2 separate regions of the Homo sapiens genome follow, and region 2 is linked to region 1. The links are contacts of gene promoters, found by promoter capture Hi-C in human tissues and cell types (Jung and others, 2019). All regions are on one chromosome and are shown on one strand. The core of a region is centred on a gene start or on the middle of the fragment in contact, and the rest is flanking DNA. Distances in the headings are between cores, read along the strand shown. Region 1 holds the start of GRM8 (glutamate metabotropic receptor 8). Region 2 overlaps GRM8 (glutamate metabotropic receptor 8).

Evidence for each region. The method cuts DNA at HindIII sites, captures the fragments that hold promoters and counts their contacts. A contact is called where the count stands out against the background at its distance.
Region 2: a fragment that was not itself captured here is called in contact with the fragment with the promoter of GRM8 in region 1 in 2 of the 25 tissues and cell types used here (aorta and bladder).

Annotation. Positions count from the first base shown.
Region 1 is chr7:127,249,062-127,256,965 of GRCh38, forward strand. GRM8 (glutamate metabotropic receptor 8) reads right to left here and starts at 3,880. Exons shown (of 11, transcript NM_000845.3): 1 at 3,736-3,880. RefSeq lists an enhancer at 4,718-4,967 and a silencer at 5,088-5,147. The HindIII fragment of the contact is 12,389 bases long and covers 1-7,904 here.
Region 2 is chr7:127,146,290-127,154,193 of GRCh38, forward strand. All of the region lies in intron 2 of GRM8 (glutamate metabotropic receptor 8), which reads right to left. Among named protein-coding and RNA genes, the nearest start is that of GRM8-AS1, 65 kb to the right of the region's middle. The HindIII fragment of the contact is 4,065 bases long and covers 1,267-5,331 here.

The DNA.
Region 1 (7,904 bases), core at 2,630-5,129:
TGGGTCATGACCACTGGAAAAGTCAGCCAATAAATAGCCAGCAGCTTTCTAGCTTTAGGCATAACCCTGCCTGGAAAAGTATGAAATTGGCAACACATGTGTCCAACAATCTATACTCCTCTGAGGGCTCTCCTAGATATTCCTACTTCTGTTCACCTCCTGCCCTGCCCTGCCCTGCGCTGACCTCCCCAGAACTAGGTCTCTTCCTTCCCTCAGTGCCTTTGTTCTTTCATTACCTTGGCCCTCCCCAGGGAGTGAGTGGATTCATTAGCAGGTATCAAAGCCTGAAGATGCATTACTGTCATCCCCAAATGGAACATCTGCATTCTCAAAATGATTCCTAGGAGAGCCATAATTTATTTACCAAAGAAATATCACCATTAATAATGGTTAAGGCTAGCAATGCAACAAGCCAGAGCAGAGAGCTAGGAGTCAGGAGCGTCTCAACAGTACCTCTCAAATCATTCCAACAGCATTGCCCACCACTGAGAAAGGGTGTCCTGGGATGAGACAATATTATGCTCAGCGTCCCTCCCAGTGAGTGGGTGAGTTTGTCGCAATTTGTCAAATTACCAAGTAGAAATGAAAATCAAAGAAAAAAGAGAGAAAGCCCAAATCTAAATTCCAATTCCTAGCAGAAAGAAAACCCTCTCTTGAAATGGAAACAATAAGCCAGCCAACTCTCAGCTCATAGCCTCTCCTGGGAACAACATGAAGTGGCCGTCCCTATTGAATGAACCACATTTGTGAGTCTGGGGATGCCCAGTCAGAGTCTATCAAGAAAACAGCAAGTTTCCTGAACCTCCGCAAGCCAGCCAACTTGACAGACATGGAGATGTGGCCAGGTCTTGGCTGTGGGTCCAGGAAGAGAGAAATTCAAGCAGCATCTTCTTTTAAGACACTGGGACAGAGCAACTCCACTCCCCCCAACTAAAGCAAGGTCATCTTTATGATGGGCATTCTAACTACCTGAGAAAGGTGGTAGGAAGGAAACTTGGAAGGAAAAAAACATGTGTGTAGTGTGCTGTACATCGTGCCCTGAAGACAATGGAACATTCATACACAAAGATTGGCACGCAATTGCCAATGTGAATGTCAGACGGGTTATTTGCTGCATAAATACCAATTAAACAAGCCCCGCAGCAGCTTCAACCTGCTCAGCCAACTTTGAAAAGAGCACATCTCTCCAGACCTCTAACTTTCTCCTGCACTCACTGGAGCTCAGCTCTTCCTTTTCTCTATTCCTTTTGGATGTAGATGTTTTTAGAATTATTCAAGCAGCCATAACTTTCGAACGGTGCATAACAGGGCAGAACTAGCTAGCACAATCCAAACAGAACAAATTGAGCCTAAGGAACAGTATACAGCTGTGTTCTCAGTATCTTCTTCTTTATTCCGGGTCAATTGTCTCCTACAAAGCCTCCCGTCATCTATTTCTCCCCACATCCCTTATTCAAAAGCAAGAATTCTCTATCTTAGACATGGTACAACCTGTAGTTGACTCTAAAATGGAAAAATTGCATTTTAAAAAACCTTGGTTCATTTTCCCTGACGGAGGAAGCTTTTCTTTTCAAAATTATCAAGCCACACGTTTTCAAGAACCAGAGAATGAATTGCACACAGCTGATTCTGCCTCCTACAGAGATCTTTCACGGTATTATTCACAAGCAAGTGACCAAGGTAAACTAAAGTGGTTTCTGTAGCCATTTGCAATTATTGACAAACAATTTCATAACGGAAAGTGGAAATTACAGGCAAGTGCAATAAGCTGTTTATCCACGATCTACCTGCTGGTGGCTCTTTTTCTCTATTTTTCTTTCAAGCAAAATACAAGCTACCATAGGAATGCTTTTCTCCCGTTCATGATTTTTCTTGTATCTCCACCACCAACCCTGTTTTCCAGTTCTGTCAGTTGGCAGGATTTGTATTCAATCGCGGTAGTAGCCCAGACTCTAGTGTATTCTTGGGTGTTCCAGAGACTCCCGCACCTTCAGGTTTGTGGGAAAGGATCCCCCAAATGGCAAATAAGGCACTCCCTCCCGGGGTGGGACTTGCTTAGGGGACTTAAGGGTTTCTGCAACCGGCGAGGGGGTCTGTTTTCACCCCCGCTATCTTGGGTGCGCAGACACTCTCTGACACCAGGCTTCACAGTTTGGGCCACGGGGGAAGTAATTCCCCAGGGAACCGCGGGGGTGCGGTTTTGCGCAACTGGGTGACTCGCGTGTCCCTCCGCATTTCATTTGCACCAAGGGAGCGCGTGTCAGACGAAGGGAATTTTTTTTTCTTTTTTGGTGATTCTGTTATTTTTTCACCAACTGTACGAAGCTCAAGGGATATCCGAGCTTTCTGGCTGGGCGGATGGGCTTCGCGCTTGGCATGGCTGAGCGGTCCATCTCTACCTCTCCGTTTCTATCTCTACCATAACAGCGACCACTCAGCCCGCCAGGAGCCCCTGTTTCCCAGCGCAGGTTCCTTTTTCTTCTCAGTTCCTTGGGCTGTTGAAGCCGGGTTCTGGGTAGATAGAGACTGGGGCCGTGGGGAGAGCGCCAGGCTGCTTTTGCCTTTCCCGCGCCCCGGGGCATTCCGGCGCGCTGGGGATGCAGCCTCCGCCCCCGCCGCACCTGGCCGCCCGAGCGCCCGCGCCCACGCCCCGCGCGGGGCCGCCCGAAACTGGGGCCGCGCCAGCCGCGGGAGCTACCGAGGAGCTGTTGGGGTGCGTTTGCCTTTGCTTTTTAAACAAGATCCCCGAGACCTTTTCTCCATCCCCCCAACCCCCAGCAGGACACGGAACTCCGGCGTTTCTCGAAAGCCACAAAAGAGGGGCACGGAAATCCCAAGCTCGCCGTGCTAACTCGGAGAACGCAAACTCGAGGCAGAGCGTGCGCCGTGCGGGGATGTGGGTGTCGAGGACCCCGAAGCGCCCGGCTTCCCCCGCGACCCCCATCCTCCCTAGATCCTGGTTAGACATCCATCCAGCCCACGCTCAGAGGGCGGGGGTTACCCCGACTCATCCCGGAAGCCGCTAACTTCAGAAATCCCTCCTGTTAGGTTCGCGAAACGAAGGTACCTCGTCATCTCGGCGGGGCAAGTCCGGATTCCACCAGGGCAGGTCCGGGAGGTCACCCAGGGCAGACGATCCGAGGCAGAGCGCTTTAAAATCCTGCCGCCGCACGCCCAGTCAGAGCGCCGAGCGCGCCTGCCCCCTTCCCGTCACCCTTCAGTCTCCCATTCGCCGACTAAACTTTTGGGGGATCACATCTCCAAGCCTTGGGAGTTCCGGGTAAAGTCTCCCTCTTTTCTGAACCTCTTTACTGTAATGTAATCATGGGCAGACAAGAGGGGTGGCTGCCTTGTTCTTTGCAACGTAAAATCAACAGACACCCAATCAAGCTCCAATGCCCGGCCAGCCCCTCGCCCCCTGGTGCCCACTCTCCTTCTCCCCCCATTCCCGTCACCTCCGCCCGCTATTTCTCTCACAGACTACGGACATGCAGGGCCATCTACTTGTGCTCAGGAAAAACAAATCACTAGAGTGATATGAGAAGGAATGGTGCACCTGGCTGTCCGCTGAAAGGTTTTAGAGAAGAAAACGGAAAGGGGAATAAAACGGGGGGATTCTCCTTTTCCAACAAGCAGGGCGTTTTGGGGAAGTTTGGGGGCCAGGGGCTTTTTGTCCCGTGGTTCGGCACTTGCTTTCCTCGGAGCCGCTTTCTGCTGCCGGGCGGCGAGTCTTACCCTGCTCCCCGCAGAGGGCGCGGTGAGGAAGCCCGCCGGGGGCCCGCAGCTCCATGTCAGCGCCGCCGCCGCCGCCGCCGCCGCCGCGTGAGGCGAGCACAGCGGCCGCACTTGTGGCTGATCTCTGGGCTGAGGGGGCTGAGCTGGCCTAGCAGGCGCCAAGTCTCTTCCATGTGAATAACAAATACTCCCACCGGCGGCCGCGATTGGTCTGCGCCCGGCGCCTCCCGATCCTCCGCCCGCGGCCATTCACCCGGCGCGGCGCGGGGAGCCGCGGCCAGGATCGCGCCCGGGATCGCCAATCGCTTCGCGCCAACCAGTCACCTCGGGAAGCGGGAGGAGGAACCCCCGAGGGGCGGGAGCCTCTGGATTTCGGTGTCACCCAGCGGCCCTGGCGCGGGCAGGGAGGGGGACCCTCGGCCCGCGGATCCCCCTCCGCTCTTCAGCCTGAAGCGACGAGGAGACCAGAAATGTCAATAGTTCTGATTTTTAAAAATCATCCCCCCTTCCCCGCCCCCAAGAAAAAGGGGAGGACCCAACTACAGAGTGAGAGGGTGGGAAGAAGCGGGAGCGGTAGAAGAAGGAATATGGTTGTGGAGGAGCCCAGCGGCTCCGGCTGCCTGGCGAGCCCGGGACCGGCGCGGGGAGGCGCGACGCCCGCCCGAGCACAGCGGGCAGCACCCGCGAGCCCGGGTCCCCGGTGAACACAGCTCCAGAAAGCGTCACCGAGAATAACACATGGTAGATGACAAGTGTCCCGCCACATGCTTTCTTTTCGGGAATGCTTAAAGTAGAGCCGGCAAGCCGCGCGGTTCCCTTGCAAAGTTTGCCTGGCGCCGCGCGGCGGTTCCGCCATTTGTCCCGCCCCGCGGCTCTGGCGATTGTCTCCCCACTCCCCGCCCCCGAGGGTCTGAGGGACGCGTGCAACAGAGTCCCCAGGGCTCGAGGTACCACACAGCGCGGTCCGCTGCGGGCACTGCGCAGGAAGGGGCATGGGTGGCTACCGGGACGGTCATTTTATTGAGATGATTCAAGGAGCCGCAGACGCGGGGCAGGAAACTCCGGGGGAGCCGTGCTCGGGTTCTGCAGGGAAACCTCGGGATTCCCTTCGCATGCCGCATGCGGAAACCTGCCGGGCTCGACGTGCACAGTCCAGCGCTCCTCCCCACTAGTTACTGCCCAGGCCCCCCGATCCTGCACCCGCCGGAATGAGAGAAAGTAGCCCCTCGCCGCCCAGCTCCCGGGTAGCTGCTCCGGCCGGGCCTTGCGTTGGTGAGAAAGTTCCATCTAGAGGCGGCCGCGCGCAACTGCAGGCGGCGCCCTAGGCCCGGGCGAGCCAGGGAGAGCGGGGCGCGGGGGGAGAGGGGGCAGCCCAGGAGATAAGGAGGATGGAGAAGGACGGGAGAGACCCCGAAAAGGCAAGCTCTAGACCCCCGTTCGGCATCTCTACAATGAATTTTATCTTCCTAAGCATCATGAACTTATAAGCATTATGTCAGGAATCTTTCATTAATTCCTGTATATATCGCCTGTTCTGTTCGGGTTATTTTAATTTTCACATCAACTCTGTGAGATGGTCAAAATTATTAAGCCCACTCTACAGATGGAGGCAGAAGCCGAGGCTTAGAGACACGGCTGGAAAGTATTACAGCCAGAAATCAGTGTCTGGCTTCAAAACCCCATAGCACTTCCTCCCTGGTGGTGTTGGCTTTTCCCAAGGCTGGTTGTAATGTGCGAAGTTTCGATTGAGGAAACAGCTGTCTCTCTCCTAATTTCAAAAAAGGACCCTTGCCCTTTGTCACTTAGAAAAAATCTACAGGTTTTCAGCCCAGGGCACCTCTTCCCCTTTCGTTCCCTTCCTTCTCCCATCTCATGAGAGGCTCTTTGATTGTTGAATCATTATTTTATAGCTGCAACCACAAAAGAGGGAGGGAGGAGGATTTGGAGAGAGAAAATGGGCTGGGTCCTCTGTCTGAAAACCTTTCTGCATAGGGAACCTCAATTCCCTGTGAATGTCTAGTGCAGCTCTGAAGAGGGTGATCAGTGTCCGGTGCCACTTGGGACAAGGAAGGTGGGAAGAGGGAAGAGCTCCTAATTTATGCGGAGATGGGGCTGGGTGGACTTCCTGGTTGCACGCCTGCGTGTAAGACGCTTTAAAGATTTTCTTTTCTTAGGGACTGGAAGAGATCCCTCCTCCCCCAGAAGTGTAAAGTAAGTGCAGTGGCCTGATTTCTATAGCAGGAAGCCCACTCCACCCCAAACTCCAGACCCATGATCCCGGTCTGAGCAATGATATCACAGATAACGTAGAGGTATGAATAAGTCCGTTTTAGACCATTTACTACGTGTGCATTGATAAATTTGAGGGGAAAAGAGACACGACGGAGGGGAAAGGCAGAGGAGGCCCGCAAATACGTTGGGCATCGACAACTGCTGACCACACATCGTCTTCAGGGTAGGCTAGAGGCCAGCTGCAGGGCCAGTTGGGTCGTTGCCTGGCATGAGCCAAGAGGGCAGCAGCCTGGTGCTCTAGTGGGCCCATTTTAATAATAAGGGCAATAAGGCTGGCTGTGGCTTTGGAAGCCTAAGGAGGCCGAGTGAGCCTCTTGGGGAAGAAATGCCTAATGAGCTGCCTTTCTCCTTTCCCTATTGATCATTACCTGCAGAGAACTGATGTCTTACAGGCACATCGCTGCCCTTTTTGGTGCAGCCTTCTGCGAGAAAACTAGACTTGATCTCTCCTAAGGAAAGTGCAAGTCCGATGCTTCGTTTTGCATCATCTTTAACTCTTGATACTCAAAATAGAACCATCACTCAAATCCTACATGGAATCTGGTCAATAAGAAATAGAGCCCTTCTATATATTCTTCAGTGTTTCCAATGGCTTTATCTAGTAGCCCCTGAGCAAGTGACACAGCCTTCTGTACAGGTTATAATTTGCCCATGTACAGGTTATAATTCGCCCAGACTGATAGCAACACTGGGACACAGGAAGAAAGATTGTCTCCAGGAGGGACTGGTCCTTATCAGTAACATTCACAGGAAAAAGTTATTGGCTGTACAACCTCTATTCGTCAGGGCCAAACACCATGATGCTGCTTGCTCATTGCTGCAATCTGAGTCAGGGGAGAGTGTCTGAAGACCAGGCCGTCCAGACATGCAGCTTATTCTAGAGTCATCCACCTTGCCTCCCCTTGGGATCCCACCCTCTGCAATACACACTGTGTCTTTGGAAAGTGTCTGACCTCATCCTCCATCCCACCCCAAATGTTTATTCAAACCAAGTATATTTCCTAGTAGTTAATCCTCCAGGAAGATTTGCCTATAATCTTCTCATTTTCAGTTGATTTAAAATGTGAGAAACTGCCCATGTGTTAGAAAATGCAAAAAACAATGCCATATGTTTGGGGTCCATTTAACTCAAGCTGTGATACATATTCCACACATGGAGATTTATGCCACAATTCCTGCTTTGGAGTAATCATTAAGGCTGAGAACCTTTGCAGGCTACTCACCCAAGAGAAATATCGACAGCATGATGCTCCCACATGGAGCAAAGCTGACAGGGGAAAGTGGGAATGGGATTTGTTTCTTTTGGAAACGAAGACAATATTTTTCTTGCTAGACCATCTGCACATGGCAGTGAGTGTACCATGTGGGTTTTGCTCAGTTTATTAGACACTGGCTGCTAGAAGCAAGATCAGACATGTTAGACTGACAGTCAGATAGAGCCAATGAGATTCATGACACCAATGTCATGAATGAGTGTGTTCTGCACTTCCACAGTCAACTCATACCTGCATACAGGAGTCATGGGAAAGATTCTTTAAGAATTTCTGACATATGGTATATGGGCATCTCTACTGGCTTCATTTGGGTTCCCCTAGAAGCACAACCTGAAACAAGGATTCAAGAGCAGGTAGTTTAAGAGGTGAAGGGAATCCCAGTACTCAGGTGGGGAAGTGAGCCAATAAAGGGTGCATTATCAAGCTAGGTATCACTGTAGGCACCTGGTACCTAATCCCAGTGGGGAACTCTGGAAGTCAGTGTAAAACACACAGCAGAGAGTGGGTCCAACTGAGGGATGAGGGAGCTGGGGTATCTATACACCAACACTTATAAGATGTTAGTTAAGAACTGCTACCAGATGATGTTTATTCTCTGGCAAT
Region 2 (7,904 bases), core at 2,049-4,548, 100 kb before region 1:
CTACATCAGGGGCACTCTGTCGCTGAAGAGAGTGTAGGAGATACTTGTGGCATTCTATGGTCCCTTGCATGGCAATTTCTGAAAACTGTGGTTCCCAGAGCTATGGCTTGAAGAGACTCACAACTGCTCTCCACGGCAAAAGTGAGCCTCAGAAAAAACAGTGTGGGGGTCTCATGGCTCCAGGAGATAGAGGAACAGGGAAACAAGGGAAACCCAGGGACAAACCCAGGAAAACTCAGAGACAACAAATTCCAAGTTTTGGACATGTAAGTGTTTTTTCCCAACTGAGAATTCTGAAGAATATGAGAACCAGGACATATGGTCTTGAAATTCCTGTTTTAATCTGCAAGATCAAAACAGAATATTTTAGTTCAGTTATCCAGATATTTCACAAAAGATGAGTATCAGCTCTAGTAGGACACAGCTAAGGCTACTAATCCCCTCCCCTTCACAAACATCCCTCTGTTTACCTCCACTTACTCAAAAATCTCATTAAAATTTGGTAGTCATTCATCTTACAGTAACTCTGTACACCACCTCACCTCTGCAGTCCCATACCTCTTGAGAGGATCTTCCATGACCTAAAAGATGACCCCTGTCACCTCTTCAACTCAAAGAAAGGATCTCCAACTTAAAAAGGGGGTTGCTTAGGGAAATAAAAGGGGAACAGAAACTAATCACCTAAAACCACTGTCTACTCACAGCGTAGGAAGCTCTTTGGTAGGCATTAGGAAAGCATCTCTCCGTAAGTTAGATGGTATATTTGTGTGTGCTATTATTGCTATTGCTATTTAACTGCAAATATGCAATTATCACACCTTTAGCATGAGGTTCAGTAGACATAGAGGCACTAGATTCAACAATATTGAATTTACAAAAGAATGGTCCAATGAATGAAAGTTGGGCAGCCACAGAAAGCCTCAGAGAGCTAATCAATGTTTCCCAAGAAGTCTGAACCCCACCACCAAACCAAGCAAAGCTGAAAGTAAACATGTTCCGGCCAAAGTACAGAAAGTAAAAATGCTTCCTACTGCTGTGGATGAGGGTCCTCTGACAGGCCCCACTGATAGAGAGTGGGAAGCTCAAGTTTACCTTAAAGGACCTTGTTTCCTAATACATATTGTTAAACCCTTTCGTAATGCTCTCTGCAAGCTTGGCTGGGTACTTCTCTGCTAACTACTAATAAGCTGCAGTTTTCTCTTGGTCTCTGCTTTGGGCAAATTCCCTCCTATCCCCCCACTCACCTTGCTTCAGCTGTCCCTAAGGCTTAATTCCACCTTCTGCCCTGTACAAGTATACTAACTTAGTATATTTCTAATATCCTCTAATCCACATTTGCCATATCTTTCAAGCTGGGTTCAAAACACCTCTTTTTAGAAGCTTTTCAGAATTAACCAATGTAACTAATGCAACCCAATTTTGCTGTTTTCTCCTTTCATCTATAATGCCTGAATCCTTTTACACTTATATGTCAAGACTTTACCATGTTTTTATGTTGTTTACCCAGAGAAAGAATATTAGAGCTTTGTAAAATTATTGATGCCTCAAATGCAGCTTTAAAATGAGTTAAATAAATAAAAATTAGTATAGAAGAGCACGGTAAGCTTTGTTGTTTGAAAAGATAACCTATCTACTATTGCCCATCTTCGAACTCAACTCTTCAACACATTAATGTGGCCCATCCCCTTGCCATTGAACCAGCATCATCTGGAAACTTGTTGAAGATACAGAGTCTCAGGTCCCACCTTAGACCCACTGAATCAGATTCTGTATTTTAACAAGATGCCTCCAGTGATTTGTAGACATGATAAAGTTTGAGAAGCCTTGACCTTCCCCATACTAGGCATGAAATATTCTACAAGGAATATCTCTTAAATGGGTGCAACAGAGTCGATTCAGGTATCTCTACTTCTGCCCAATCCAATCCACCAATTAGAAAGCAACTTTTCCACTAAAGAAGTTTAAGGGATCAATTCATCAAGAGGACATGGCTATTGTAAATATATATGCACCCCACACCAGAGCACCTAAATACATAAAGCAAATAATGGACACGGGGAAATAGATAGCAATACAATGATCATAGGGGACTTCAATACCCCACTTTCAACAATAGATAGATGAAGCAAAAAAAAAAAATAATAAGGAAATACTGGACTTGAATAGCACTTTTGACCAAATGGGCCTAGGAGACATAGACAAAAATTTCTGTCCAACAGCAGTATAATACATGCACATTTTTCTTCAACACACATAGAACATTCTCCAGGATAGACCATATGTTAGGCCACGAAACAATCTTAACAAATTTAAGAATACTGTACTCATATACAGTATTGTTTCAGGCCACAGTGGTATGAAACTAGAAATCAGTAACAGGAAGAATCTTGGAAAATTCACTAATATGTGGAAATTAAATAACATGCTCCTAAACAACCAATGGGTCAAAGAAGAAAGCAAAAGGAAAACTTAAAAATAACTTAGGACAAATGACAATGCAAACACAGCATAGTAATTTTTGTCAAGGGCACCAAGGGAAAACAATGGAGAAAGGTGAGTCTTCAACAAATGGTGCAGGGAAAACTGGATTTCCACATGGAAAAGAATGAAATCAGACCTTTATCTTACACCACACACAAAAATCAACTCTAAATAAAAGACCTAAACATAAGACCAGAAACTATAAAACTTCTAGAAGAGAAGGAGCAACAGCTCATGGACATTGGCCTTGATGACTTTTTGGATATCACATGAAAAGGTCAGGCCACAAAAACAAAAATAAATGAGACTACATCAAACTAAAAAGCTTCTGTACAGCAAAGAAAACAATCAACAAAATGAAATGACAGCCTATAGATTGGGAAAAAAAATACTGCAAACTATATATCTGATAAGGAGTTAATATCTAAAATGTATAAAGAATTCATATATTAATAGTAGAAAACAAATAACTCAATTTTAAAAAGACCTCAATAGACATTCTCCAAAGAAGACATAAAAATGGCCAATAGATAGATGAAAAGATACTCAATACCATTAGTCATAAGAGAAATGAAAATCAAAACCACCATGATATACCACTTCACACCCATTAGAATGGTTATTATCAAAAAGTCAGAAGACAACCAATGTGGGCAAAGGTATGGAAAAAGGGAACTCATACACTATTGATGGGAATGCAGACTGGTATAGCCATTATGGAAAAGAATATGGAGGTTTCTAAAGAAATCAAAAATAGAGCTACCATATGACCTAACAATCCCTCTTCTGGGCATATACCCAAGGGAAATAAAATCACCACTTTGTAAAGACATCTGCACTCCCATGTTCATTGCAGCATTATTCCCAACAGCCAAGACAGGGAAACAACCTAAGTGTCAGCTAATGGACAGATGGCTTAAGAAACCGTGGTACAAATATACAATGGAATATTGTTCAGTCTTAAAAAGAACAAGATTCTACTTGCCACGACATGGATGGGACTAGAGGGCTAAGTGAAATAAGGCAGACACGGGGGAAAAAAATCACATGACCTCACATGTGGAATCTAAAAAATCAGAGATAGAGAACAAAACAGTGGTTATGGGGTCAGGGTGGGGGAATGAAGAAATGTATGTCAGAGGATACAAAATAGCAGGTATGTAGAATGAAGAAGTCTAGAGATCTAATGTACAACATGAAGGTCATAGGTAATAAAATTGTACTCTATATGAGATTCATGCTAAATGAGTGCTCTCACCACAAAAACAAAGGGTAACTATGTGAGATAATGGATACATTAATTTGCTTCACTATAGTAACCTTTTTACTATCCACATGTATCCCTTAACATGTTTTATACCTTGAATATATACAATACAATTTATTTTATAAATAAATAAAATTCTATTTCCCTTGCCTCAATGAAACAGGAAAGAAGACAGGCATAGAATGGAGGGCTCATATGAAAGAAAAATTCTGCCTCCTGGAAAACAATTGCTAATGAATTGGTATTTGACAGCAGAGGCATTGCAATGGCAGGGACTTCAAAAGGAGGCTGGTCACTGAAACCAGTGGCTGTTCTCAAGACAGTGGAACAGGAGCACATGGACATGCAGGAGGGCTCTGTAGAAGCCAGGAGCCACCAGAACCTGACCAGAAAAGAAGACAAAGGCATCAGGCTGTCCAAAGTCTTAATGGGGAAAAACTGGAAATTTAAATCAAAGCCCTACTGGCTCTCTTTTGCACTCAGTGTTGGTGGTGCCCAGTGCTACACTAAGCACTCTACCTACCTCATTGACAACGACTATAATAGACCATAAGTGTTATTATTCCCATTTTGCAGACGGGACAACTGAAAAAAACAGAAAGACTGTAAAAGTCACATCCCAAACACACCACTTAAAGTGATGGCATGGGATTCAAAATGAATCCCACTCCCAGTTCTGTCCTCAACCTCTATGCTCTACTGCCTCCTTCTGTTCAAGGAGAGTAGAGTCTGTATGGGTCTTATTACACAGTGTGGGCCCACCATTCTCAGCTGACCCTTGGGTTGGCTTCATAAAGCCCAGAATTAGAGAAACCCTCCAGATGTTAGTACACACCTGTATCTGAAGTAGGTAAGCCCTGCCTCAAAAACAAGATTGCTATCATGGTGAGTCTATGAAATGCTGTCTTAAGAAGGTTGTTGTTTTTTTGTTTTTTGCAGTTTGTACCCATCAGGTTTTAGCAGAACAACAGGTTTTAGCTATACACATTGGGTTTTAGCAGAAATGAAGCACTTTCCTTCCTTGGGGAACAACATATGCTGGCATCGCTAAGTGTGTGGCTGCCTGGCTCCTTGGTACACAAGGACTCTGTAGGAGGTCAGGCCTCCTTAGGACAGCACTGGAGACTCTATACTCCAAAAGTCTCTCCACCTGGCCTAGAGGGTATGTTTTTAGTCCTCACAGGTTATGCTATTCCAGATCCTTCTCCAGCCTTGACCTCCATAGAGAAAATCACATGACACACTTCAATAAACTCAACCACCTAAGGGTTCTTGTGGTTCTTGACCATACAGACCAACCACCTCCAGCAAATCTCCCACTAGCAAAAAGCAACTTATCTCTTCCATGGATCTTCCTCGGATTTCTACCATTTCTTATCTAAGGACCTCTTATTTCTTCCAAAGATCTGTTTGTGTCATAAAAGAAAAAACACCCCAAAACCCAATTATGGATGGTTGTGAAAAGCCATGTCAAATTAAGGGGATCATCAACAACGTTTTCTACAGTTCACATAGGAGGCGATCGGGATGCTGTTCAGTCACGCTGCAACATCTGCCTTTCATTATCATTATCGTCCTCACAGAGTTCTTGAGCCCCTGAGTTTACGGCTTTCTACTGGGATTTTAAGAAATACACAGAGATGTATCAAAAGTTGAACCTGTGTATTTACAGAGAATCTCAGAGAAAAATCTCTTCCGTATGATAAAAGGCCTAGGGACTTGTACTTTACAGAATACAAATCTAAAGAAGAGATATTATGTGCCTTGAGAGCTTGTTAGAAAGCTAGATGTTACACTTTTCTTCTCTTGGAACTACTGAATGTAGATTATAGTCTATATTCTGAGGTTTTGTAGGTTTCTCTTTTGCATTCCAAAGCCTTTAATTCTGTAGATTAAAAAAAGAAGTTAATATTAGATGTTCCTAGTCCCCTTTAAAGTTACTTACGATTTCTCACTTGCCAATTGTTGAATTTTCATGTTTATTTTTAGTGTTGAAAATAGGGAAACTGCTATCTGTCCTTCACTTCCTGCCACCTTAGGGAAAAGTGAACAAAGAGTAGAGAAACTACAGAGACAGGGAAGACAGCAAGACAGACAGAGTGGGAAGGGGCCAGAGCATATGTTTTAAGTCATTCAGGCCTAGTTCCCATGTGAGTTTTATCACTTAGTGAGTAAACTTGAGCAAGTTCATTAACCTCTTTGAAACTCATTTTCCTCATTTCAATCACCTTGCAGGAGCTGGTCTAAGGGTATATAGCAATGCAGGTAAAGCACTTGGCACAATACAGAAATCCAAACTATGACATACAGGATGATGGTGGTGGTGGTTAACAGGCAAAAGTGGCAAGACAGGGCAGAGAAGGTGAAGGTAGCAAAGTGAGAAAGAAATACTAGATATGGTTTTCCCTAAAATCCAAATATAAGCATGATTGAGAGTATCTATGGCAAAGGAAATATTCTACCAACCTGATTAACAACTTCATTCTGCTTTGAAAGACACTCAACCTGGATTGCAAATTCCATGAGAATCAGCAGACTAGCTAATCTCATTTCAGTTTATCTCCACAGTAATCAATAATTGATCCCAGGGGAAGGTCAGCCTAGTGTCCTTAGGTGACTCTTCCTTTGCCAATTTGTTTTGAGCTCTCTTTATACAAGAGTGTAGGTATTATGATACAGAGATTATTTCTTTAAATTGGAGATGCATCTGATGACACTTGGAGAAAACCATCTAAAGATCACCAAAGGAATTTACCAAAAGGTAAAACCATGAATAAAAATAATTTTCAGACATGTTTCATAGGACTACAGTTCAACTGTTATATATTACTTATGTTCTTAATAGTTTGGAACCACTTGTCAGTCAAAATTAAATCATAGGCATTCCATTTGTAGAACAAATTAGTCAATCTTATTTGCATGAATCACAAAATTCTTACAGCTCTTCATTTTCTTAAAGTATTTAACACCCTCCCCATTTTCTCAACGTGAATATCAGGGTACATTAGTCACAAGACCATAACCCAATTACTTAAAGGGCATATTACATAAATGATTACACAACCTGCTGTGAAATACTGTATCTTTAGCATTTGGACCACTTGGGACATTGAGAGGAAGGATTCATTAATGAAGTGTGAAGCTCATTTTTATTTATAGTCCACAGGAAAGGCATATTTCACAGCCATCAGAAGCACTTCTGCAGGCAAGAAGTTACAGCTAATCCAAGTGCTATACCAAGCTAGTACAAGTCCAATCCTGGTGTCCCTGGCAGTCAGAAATGTTGTAAAGGGGAAAGGAATTTTATAAAAAAATTGATAGCACAAGGAGTATGAGAATGTAGAAGATCAAATCCAGACCACAGCCGAAACCTTGATAGGAGGGACACATGATGAATTAGCCTATAGGCTGAAAGGTCTGGAGGAAGTTGTGATGGTATGGGTCAGATATCTTCCACTTCCTCTGTGAAGTAGTAGAAAGTCATTTTTTGAGAAAGCGGAAGTGGGGAGAGTGGTGACTTGAAAGAGTCACTTTGGGATATGGTAGAGCAAGTTAATTGGGAAATAGCGGATAATTAGGCAATTTGAAGTTGGTGACTATGAACTTTGAGAAGCATCAAATCTCTCAATCCATTTCTGTCAATTTACCCTACTACTGAATGATTTAATTCATTTTGTGTCACCAGCACCTAGCACAGCTCCTGGCACAAGGTAGATGCTCATATTTGACTCAATTAGAAATGGCAAATATCTGAATTGTCTGAACACAAACAGTAAATGGTAAATAAATACTGGCCTTCTTTTAGGTTTGCAAAACACAATTGATTTGATAGTGAAGGCCAACATATACATAAAGAAAAACCAGAGGCCTCGATTTTACATTCAAGGTAGGTCACTGGTACACAGGAAGCCAGCTGAGGAGAGGTACAAGTGAGGGGACGTGAGGAGCACGGGTGGTGAGTATGAGATGGCTGCCCAGTCACCTCTGCTGAAAACCACCTTTGAGAGTAGCAGGATTCTAGAAACAGGATCAAAAGAATCAGTGTAGCACCATATATCACTGCCTCTGTAAGAAAACTGTGCTTGTCAACCTGGAGTTTGGGGAAAAGCTTTAAAGGAAACCTGTCATTCTGTACTCCAGCTTCCAACTTTGCAAA